Regions from separate parts of the Homo sapiens genome. Here regions 2 and 3 are each linked to region 1. The links are contacts of gene promoters, found by promoter capture Hi-C in blood cells and fetal thymus (Javierre and others, 2016). All regions are on one chromosome and are shown on one strand. Each heading gives the region's core, a stretch centred on a gene start or on the middle of the fragment in contact. The rest is flanking DNA. Distances are from core to core; before and after follow the strand shown. Region 1 holds the start of NKX2-6 (NK2 homeobox 6). Region 2 overlaps ENTPD4-DT (ENTPD4 divergent transcript). Region 3 holds the start of STC1 (stanniocalcin 1).

Region 1 (3,307 bases), core at 337-2,836:
GCCGAAGTGATCGCCGAGTTGGCTGAGCAGCGCCGAGGGAGTTTAGAATCCGCTGCAGAAAACCTACCAGCTTCTTCGCGGACACAGCAGGTAATGTTCTTAGGCTTCTGGAGTTAGTGAGTAGCCGGCCTGCAGGCCGGTAAATAACTCCGATCTAGCCCCTTGGTTTATTTCTTTCGTTCGCGCCTTGAATGGAGGCGCCATGGCACAGTCTGGCAGAGGAGGCCTGCCCTGGCGGGCGCTACTCAGGGCCCCTGCGTTGAGAATGCCGAGTGAGGTGCTGAGGTTTGGAGAGAAAAAGGTGGCGTTTTCATCCCTTGGAATATCGGGCCTCTCCAGCTGAAGCCTCCGGATCGACACAACACAACTCCCGGATCGACGCAACACAACTCCCCGCCAGCCCCTTCCCTTCCAGCGGGCTGGACACAGGTGCGTGGGCCTCGCAGCCCGGCGCGCACGGTTGCGCCTTTGGATACCTGCGACAGGACTCGGCCAGAACCGTGTCCCAGGGCAGAGAAAACCCTGGCAACCTTTAACGTTCTCCCTGACGCGGAGAATCCTGCGCCAACGGGGCCTTCCACTTCGGGAGACTCAATCGCCACCCGGTCCCCAACTTTCGTCTTCCAGAAGAAAAATCCATGAGGAGGAATGGGGGGGTCCCCCGACCAGACCAGCAAGAAAGGGCCCAGTTAGGAGTGACCTCAGCGCCACGAGGGTTCCACTGCTTTGATGGCCACACGCTTTTGCAAACGGTTTGGGGGTGGAGAGACACCAGGTGATGGTAGGGAAGGGCGGTGGTGACTGGCACGGCTAAGACACTGCGGAGGGTTTCGCTGTGGAGATGAGAAGGTGGAGGTTCTGGGCACTGTGGCTGCGAGTGTGAGCGATGCGTTTGTGGGAATCAGAGGAGCGGATTTGGGAAAAGTGAATCCTTGAGATTCAGGGCCTTACTTTCGTTAGGGGTGTGTGAAGCACACTGGGTGTCAGGAGAGGATGGGAATGGGATTCGAGAGGCCTTTTTTTGGACTCCTCGAGAGAAAATGGAGAGAGTCTCGAACCCAGGAGATAGGAGGCGTATTTTCCCCATGCACCCATGGATCACGCCCCCGCCCCCACATTCCCCCCGTAGGAGGCAAGACCTGAGCGCTTACTCACGTGGCTCCCCCATCCGTTCCGCGTCCATCTCCAAGACTGCCTCACAGGGACCCCCAGGAGGCTCCGAACCATCCAGCTTTCTGTCACCGCCGCCGCCACCAGCGTTGTGAACCTCTGACCCTCGCGGCTCTGCGTCCATTCTCAGGTACTGAAAGTTTTCCGGGCTCTTCCGCACCCGCGGATGTGGCGAAGCCGCGGGGCAGCTCCGCTCGCGCTCCAGTCGCAGGATGTCCTTGACCGAGAAGGGGGTGGAGGTGACGGGGCTCAGCAGCATCCCGAAGGCGGATGGGGCGGGGCCGAGGAGGTCCGGGTGAGGAGCGGCACCCTGAACTTCCCGTCTTGTCGCTGCAGGCCCCGCAGACAGACCCAAGCTCTGGGACAGACGCCCAGCGTCCCAGACAGCGCCTTCCTCTGGGCCATGCTGGTAGGCCCGGGTCCAGGGCCGGGTGACGAGACCGTAGCCCCCCATTGGTTCTCGCAGAAACCACGTGCTAGCTCTGCACCTTCCTCCCCCAGCGCTTTCTTCCCGCGCCCGTCGAATCCTCTCCAGTCCCCAGTCGCCTTCCTGGGAGGTTTGGTTCGTATTGACGGTTCTCAAAGCAAAGAAAACGTGGAGAGACAGTGCTGCGCGCGGCTTGGATCTCCGTCAATACGGTACTAGCGGGAGCTTCCGAGGTCAACCTAGGGTCCACGGGGACCCTCCTAGTGGACATGCGGGGATTGGAGGTGGAGTCCTTGCTGTGCAACCCGATCCGGTCCATCCAGCCTGGTCTTAGCTCAACTCTGCATTCTTATGGCGGAGGAAAGCTAAGATAGAGACAGCTGGGACCCGCGGAATTTGAGGCGCGCGCTGGGATCTTACGTGCGCAGAGGCCGGACCGCAGAGTAGAAGTGAGTCTTGACCCACCAGGGCCTATATTGAGATGGAAACCTCTCTCTTTGAACAGAATCCAGGTCTGCGGAGTCCCGACCCGCCACTTCCTAGGAGCAGCTTCTCAGCCCCAGGACCGAGGAATGGGTGTGGGGGCTACATGTGGGGAGCCCTCGACCTCTTAAAGGGCTCCGCGAATGGTGGGGGAGACTGGAAGGCAATCTCTGCGGCCCGCGCAAAGTGGTCAGAGGCGGGAGTGGGGGTGGGGGGGGGTGGGCTTCCGTCGCCCTTGGCGTCCCCACGTTCTTTTTCTTCCTCTCCTTTATCCTCCTTAAAGCGGATTGCCTGGAGCGTGCCAGCTTGTGTGCGCGTATAAATGCGGCGCCCGCCGAAGGGCTGGGAAGATTTGACTCGCATTAGATCTCCAGAAAAGGCCCTTGGTTACGGCGGGCACCGAGTAAATGGCGCAGTGTGGCACAAAGGTTACCAACACGGAGATAGCGCCAACAGATCCAGCCCCTGCTGTTACTACTCCTGGATCAGGGAAACGTGATTTGGTGTCAGCTGTTCCAGCACTGAATCGAAGAGGGTTTAAAAATTGTGTTTTAATCACAATGGGATCTCATTAGAGTTCTTTTGGGGATTTCAGATCAAATGTTTCTTTTTGTTTTTCTTTCCTTCCTTTCCCTCCCTCCCTCCCTCCTTTTTCTTTCTTTCTTTTCTTTCTTTCTCTTTCTTCCTTTTTTTTTTTTTTTTTGGTTACAGGGTCTCTCTCTGTCTCCCAGGCTGGAATGCAGTGGCCGGATCATGGCTCGCTGCAGCCTCGACCCGGACTCAGTGATCCTCCCACCTCAGCCTCCTGAGTAGCTGGGACCACAGATGCAGCCACTAAGCCTGGCTATTTATTTATTTATTTATTGCTTGTAGAGCCGGGGTTTCGCCATGTTGCTTAGGCTGGTCTTGAACTCCTGGGCTCAAGTAATGTGCCCACCTCGGCCTCCCAAAGTGCTGGGATTACAGGTGTGAGCCACCGCGCAGGCTTCAAATGCTTCTTAAACCTACTTACGTGAATTCAATGTTACAACAGCTGTTTGAATATGATTATCTCCTGAAATTCAGATAAACCCAACTCATCTCCCCAGGCTAATGGGTGCAAAATTGCACACAAATATTTATGCAAAATTTCAGCACATTTGATCATTCAGCTACAAAGTAATGATTTCCTATACATGGTAACATTTAATCTTCACATCAAAGCTATACCCAAATATTTCCAGCTGC
Region 2 (3,307 bases), core at 348-2,847, 240 kb before region 1:
AATTGGCTCACCTGTCCCTCCTGGCTGTGTGTGGGTGTTTGGGGAAGGTAACCATGCTAGATGTCAGGAAACAAAGGAATCCTGCAGCGCTTGGAAATGGGGAGTTCTCTTACTCTTCCTTGGACCTGTTTGCTTTCCAAGACATTCATGCACAGACTATTTTTGAGTGGCTTGGCTAATAATCCTATATATTTACACAGCCTTTGTCTTCAGGAAATCATGTCACTTTACAGGCATGGTCTCATTTATGAGCCCAGCATTCCTAAGGCAAAGGGATTTTTATTTCATGGTGTTTTGTTGTGGAGAGAAAGAGAAAGTGACTTGTTCAAAGCAACATCAAAATCCAGGGTTTCCTCCAAATTTTTTTAAAAATTATTTATTTATTTATTTTTTGAGACCAAGTTTCACTCTTGTTGTCCAGGCTGGAGTGCAATGGCGCGATCTTGGCTCACCATAACCTCTGCCTTCTGGGTTCAAGCGATTCTCCTGCCTCAGCCTCCCGAGTAGCTGGGATTACAGGCATGCGCCACCACGCTGGGCTAATTGTTATGTATTTTTAGTAGAGACGGGGTTTCTCTATGTTGGTCAGGCTGGTTTCGAACTCCCGACCTCAGGTGATCTGTCCGCCTTGGCCTCCCAAAGTGCTTGGATTACAGGCGTGAGCCACAACGTCTGGCCCTAAATCCTGGGTTTACTCCAAACTTTTCTCATCAAAGCAGAGTGATCAAACTGTACCATAAAGGAGTCACATGGGAGATGGGTAATTGAACACACAAACACATGCACACACACACACACACACAAAACACACACACACGTAGGCAGCAGACATAGTTGCTTTTGCTGCTCGGGCCCCATCACTCTAGTTTTGGTAACAGTACCTCAGATTTCTGAAGGAATATACTCAGGTCATATTTGGTCCATTTGGGTCAGAAATTATGACCCTGGCCTGGTTAAGCAAGGTAATTTTGTCTCCTGATCATGATGACTGGCACGAGTCAATGTTGTTCTGATTAGATAAAAGCTCCATTTTTCAATATCAGCTTCATCTGTGATAAAGATGATACTTTGGTTTGTAAACCCAGAAAATCAGAGACAAGTCTCAGTTAATTTAGAAAGTTTATTTTGCCAAGGTTGAGGATGTGCGCCCATGGCACAGCCTCAGGAAATCCTGACGCCATGTGCCCAAGGTGGCTGGGGCACCGCTTCATTTTATACATTTTAGGGAGACATGAGACATCAATCAATATATGTAAGACATACATTGGTTCCATCCAGAAAGGTGGGGACAACTCAAAGCAAGGAGGGGTCTTCCAGATCACTGGTAGGTGAGAGAAAAGGGGTTGCATTCTTTTGAGTTTCTGATAAGCCTTTCTAAAGGAGGCAATCAGAATATGCCTCTATGTCAGTGAGCAGAGGGATGACTTTGAGTAGAATGGGAGGCAGGTTTGCCCTGAGCAGTTTCCAGCTTGAATTTTCCCTTTGGCTTAGTGATTTTGGGGCCCCAAGATATTTTCCTTTCACAGGTTTTCATATAGTTTTTGTTTCATTTCTAAAATTATTCAGACTTAAGCAGGAAGCAGTGGGTAGTTTATTGGACACCTTAAACCTCTCTCTGTTCCTTTCTCACACCAGATAACATACCATTCTTCCTCTCACCATCCTTCCCTACTGCACCATCACCTTTAAGTTAAGGTTGAAATTCCTGAGCAAATCAACTGCAAATCGATGAGGTGACCAGATGTCATGGACAGGATGGCTTCACACTAGTCTCCTTGGCATGACACCCCAAGGCCATGGTTAAGTTGCTTTCAACTTTTAAGCCTGATGTCCAGACACTTCCCTATATATATTTTCGCTGTGTTCTAACATGTTTAATGGACTATTTGCTTGTTTCCCAATTGTGCCTTCTTTTCTTTTCTTTTCTTTTTTTTTTTTTTTGAGATGGAGTTTCACTCTTGTTGCTCAGGCTGGAGTGCAGTGGTGTGATCTCGGCTCACTGCAACCTCTGCCTCCCGGGTTCAAGCAATTCTTCTGCCTCAGCCTCCCGAGCAGCTGGGACTACAGGCACGTGCCACCATGCCTGGCTAATTTTTGTATTTTTAGTAGAGATGGGGTTTCACTATGTTGGTCAGGCTGGTCTCGAACTCCTGACCTCATGATCCGATCAGTGCAGGGCTTTTCTAAGTGCCAGCCATCTGTGACTGACTGCACAGGTCCCACGCCCTAGAAGCAGCTCTGTAGCTACCCCAGGAAAATGTAGCCCTATGGCCTTGACTGTAGAAGCCTCTGCTGTTGCCCAAGGCTGTGGGCTGGCCTGAGCAGCTGGGAGGATGAGTGGGGAGTGTGGGGCTTCAGGACAGAGCTTGAGCCTTGATACTTGCCTGACTTTCAGTCTTACAGAAACCACAGTATTACAGACTTTTCCATGTTGTTGTTACAAAGATATATAGATTTAATATATAGATTTAAAAATAAATGCAAAAAAGTAAAAATTAGAGGGGCTATAACATTTGATTTACTAGTTTATCTGAATTTATCATTTTAAACATCTTAAAACATGGGTGTGTCCTCTTAGCCCTGACCCTCCAAATGTTTGTGGCAATCCCAGAGTGGAGAACGCAGAAGGAATGAATAAACCTCCTGGAAGAGGTGGCATGAGATGTGACTGAAGACACAAAGAGAACGATAAATGTGAAGAGGAGGAAGGATTCCTCTTTTGTTAAAAAAAATTGTGGTAAAATACACATAACATAAAATTTACCATCTTAAATTTATTTATTTATTTATTTATTTATTTAGAGACAGAGTCTCTGTCACCCAGGCTGGAGTACAGTGGTACAATAGTAGCTCACTGTAACCTCAAACTCCTGGGCTCAAATGATCCTCATGCTCCAACCTCCCAAAGTGCTGGGATTACAGGCGTGAGCCACCGCACCCTGCCCATCTTGATCATTTTTAAGTGTACACTTCAGTAATGTTATGTGTATACATATTATTGTGCCACCAATCTCCAGAAGTTTTTCATCTTGCAAAACTGAAACTCTGTACCTGCTAAACGACTCCCCATTCCTCTCTCTTCATCCCCCGGCAACCCTCAGTCTGCTTTCTGCCTATAAATTTGACTACTCTGGATACCTTATATATGTGGAACTCTACAGCATTGGTCTTTTTGTGACTGGCTTATTTCAATTAGCATAAAGTTCTCAAGGTTCATCTGTGTTGCAGCATGCGTTGGAATGTCTTTCCTCTTTAAGACCAAATAATATTCCACTGTATGGATATACTGCATTTTATTTACCTATTC
Region 3 (3,307 bases), core at 265-2,764, 150 kb after region 1:
TTCCCCACCCCCTCCCACCACCCGCAGCCTCTAGGATGTTACAAGTCATTTCCCTAATTATATATTTCCACGGGTTTAAATTATAACTTTGCTTTAAGCAGTTTTAATATGCATTAGGGCTGCTATTGTTTTAGGCAAGCTCGAATTGTGAATCACTGCATCTCTATAGCAACTAAGTACAAAAGGAAGTGAAGCAAAAGCCCTCCTCTCGGCAGGGACCTGTGCTCTTCCAAGGGGATCATCATCTGCAGCATTTTGACACCTGTGATCCGGTCTTTGCTGACAGTTGGAGGACAGAGGGCAGTATTGGAAGGGGAACAAGTGGAGCCAGAGAAGTCAAGAGGCAGAGGTGTCAATGCAGGCTTCCTAATGATTCTTTTCCTTCAGAAGCCAAGATAATGCACAATTAACTGCTCCAAGAGTCAAGACGAAAGTGAGACCTTACCCTTGGAGAAACAGCTGCTACGTTTCACAATTTTTTTTTTCTAGGGGCTCTCTGGCTACGGGCTGCAGGGACGACTGAATGGAGCCCTACAGAGCCAGGAGGGAGACAGGCAGCAGGGTTGGGGGTGGGATGTATAGGGTTTTCTCTGAATCCGCCCTGGATTTGTCAGACTTGAGGGCTATGGTTCTGAAAATCAGTCTGAAGAGGGAGCTTTTCTGTGTATTCTCTTAGGTAGAGAAGTCAAGAAGTGAAGAGGTAGAGTCTTAAGAGGAAAGGAAGAGGGACAGCATCAAACAAGCCAGGTCTTACCTTAGATCAGCTTCTGGAAAGTATAGAGAGCGCTTTGAAGCATGCCAACATTCAAGCCTTTCCTCCCCTCTCACCCCTCCCCCTCCAAGAGGGTACGTGCCAGATTTCAGGCAATCAGGCTAGGCTTATGCAATGAAATACCCTCAGCAGAGCGTCCAGCTTCTTCGTTTAGTTGCATGCAATTTATTAAACAAAGGAGCTCCACTGCCTAAGGCTATTGGATTACACTGGCAGTTTATTGCCATCAGGCATGAAGCACATTTATTATCAAGATCAGCCGTCACAGACACAGTTGCAAAAGGGAGAGGCAAATGAGGACAGCTCTTTGGGGGAGAAACCGCTCTTGGGTTTGCTGCTTACCTGAGTTTTGAGCCGCCACTCGGGATTTCCTGGGGCTCACAGAGTCATTCTGCTCCGCCTCATGGGTTGCAGAAGCACTGATCACCAGCACCAGAAGCACTGCTGAGTTTTGGAGCATTCTCTGAGAAGTTTCCGCTAAGTTGTTGGGTTTTTTTTTTTTCCTGCCCCCCTTTCCTCTTTCCCTCTCCTGGCTTGAGTGAAGATGTGGATCTGGATACACTGAAAGCTTAGGTGAGGATTTGATGAGGATTTTTTTTTGTTGTTGTTGCTGGTGATGCTGCTGCTGCCACCGGTGCCTCCGCTGCTGCTGCTGCTGCCGCCGCTGCTGCTGCTGCTGCCACCGCCGCTGCTGCTGCTGCTGCTGCAGTCGCTGCTTCTTGCACCTCTGGCTTTTGCAAACTGGGGGCCCAAGAGCTGCACCCAGGGATTTTATAGCCGTTCTTATCGGTCCTCAGGATCAAGGACCAATCAGGTCCCTCAACTGGTCTGGTGAGCCAATAAGAGGGCATGCAATTCAGCTGGAGCTTTTTGACTTCTTAGAAATATTTTCCAGCAAATTAAAAGTACCTGCTGCCAATGTTTTATATGTGTGTGTGACTGTGTGTGCAGAGATGTGTGAAAAAGCTATTTTCGTGGAAGTAAGAGATAACTCTGTATTGATTGAACTAAAGAAAAATCCTATAGAAATCTCTCCAAGTTGCTTTTTGAAATCTAGCCATCTTTTTTTCTAATGAGCCACTTGGGGGAAATGGATAGCAGGGGTATGGTGGGGAAATGTGATCTCTTTAGATGAGAACTTAACCTGCTTACAGCAGTTTTACTCTAATTTTAACAGCACATTCTCGGTTCTGTTTTGTAGGCTACAAATGCAATAACTCCCTATCTTCTCTGTGTGTACATGTTCACATGTCTATGATGCATTTTTGTTTGTATGTGGACATCCTGGGTTCTCACTCACACATTTGAGCCCTTGAGGGGGAATTTATGTGAGTGGAAAAGCCTTGGGGGACTGAGATATGACAGCTCAGAGCTGAAGCCTTAGTCCCCCTACTGATCAACCTATGACTCTGGCTAAGTCTTTTTACCTTGCCCCACCTCGTTTTCCCATCTGTAAAACGCCAAAGTTGGACTCTGACATTCTGTATACCTCTAAAATAATGTGATTCTTCAATAATCAAATCAACTTTGACTTCATCTTTTCAGTCACCAGCAAAATTGCATAGTCCAGGAGTGTTAGTTACCCCAGGTACACATGTGCACACCTGCACATACCACACTCAACAGGGAGACATCATGAATGCCTGAAAATTAATAATCTGTGTTCAAGCCCAGCAACTTTATAACCACTTTGAAACAATAAGCTGGCCAAAGCAAGACTAAACCTGCTGAATGGAAACCAGTTCATTTCTTGGGGAGAGGGGTAGGAAAAAAGGGGGCAGAATGGAAAGAAGGGGTAGAGAAAGACCAGAATGTGTAGGAGAGAAGAATGATAAGCTCTAGACTTAATAGGAAAATTGCACTGCAATCACAAATCATGCCTGGTATAGAAACTTATATTTTCTTATAAGTGAGTTGTAGGCAATGCTGAGGTTTGTCCCCAACATGTGAAGGAGGTTAATGAGCCAGAAGAGGACTTCTTAGGGTAGGAAGGTGGTGAAGGTATTATACAATAAAACCTTTAATAATTTTGGGGAAGTAGATGAGAAATGGCCACTGGTGATTCATACAGATTTGGGCAGGATAATCTTGCAGAGAAATGGGGCCAGTGGCTTTACTTTGCATCCTAAAACCTTCAAACAAAAGTTGAAGAAAGAGTGCCACCCCTGTTAACCACAAACTAAACCAAGTGTCAGCTCTGTGTATGTTGTGGGGTGATAGGGTGGTGGGGGGCGGGGGGGGGGGGGCGGCGGACGGTTCTGGGTGATGATAGCCTATCCCTCACAAAATAGGGTTGTTTGGTAAGTATGAAAGTTTGCTAGAAAAAGGAATAGAAGGAATAAAGGATACAGGAAATATCTAAAAGAAAGGAAGGGAATTTTCAGATTTACATTATATAACAAGAATACATTTTAATTTATATTAACAGGCAGTATTGGTATTTCTTTAGAACCTTCTGGGCTGAGTGCTAGGGGACAATGTGGGAGGATAAATGAGAAGACATAGAGAAGAAGGTAAGTTCATTATTCTTGTCCT

The links. Contacts are between HindIII fragments. The CHiCAGO score rates a contact against its expected background, and 5 or more counts as called.
Region 2: a contact is called between a fragment that was not itself captured here and the fragment with the promoter of NKX2-6 in region 1, in 4 of 17 cell types (M0 macrophages, neutrophils, monocytes and 1 more). The highest score is 7.6, in M0 macrophages.
Region 3: the fragment with the promoter of STC1 here is called in contact with the fragment with the promoter of NKX2-6 in region 1 in 2 of 17 cell types (naive CD8 T cells and non-activated CD4 T cells); the score reaches 7.5 in naive CD8 T cells.

Annotation. Positions count from the first base shown.
Region 1 is chr8:23,705,170-23,708,476 of GRCh38, forward strand. NKX2-6 (NK2 homeobox 6) reads right to left here and starts at 1,587. Exons shown (of 2, transcript NM_001136271.3): 1 at 1,156-1,587. The coding sequence starts at 1,429. All of the region lies in intron 3 of LOC107986930 (a long non-coding RNA gene), which reads left to right. RefSeq lists an enhancer at 1-206. The HindIII fragment of the contact is 21,372 bases long and covers 1-3,307 here.
Region 2 is chr8:23,463,656-23,466,962 of GRCh38, forward strand. The region is part of intron 2 of ENTPD4-DT (ENTPD4 divergent transcript); the gene reads left to right. Among named protein-coding and RNA genes, the nearest start is that of ENTPD4-DT, 7.5 kb to the left of the region's middle. The HindIII fragment of the contact is 5,931 bases long and covers 1-3,307 here.
Region 3 is chr8:23,853,292-23,856,598 of GRCh38, forward strand. STC1 (stanniocalcin 1) reads right to left here and starts at 1,515. Exons shown (of 4, transcript NM_003155.3): 1 at 1,115-1,515. The coding sequence starts at 1,232. The HindIII fragment of the contact is 2,191 bases long and covers 1,339-3,307 here.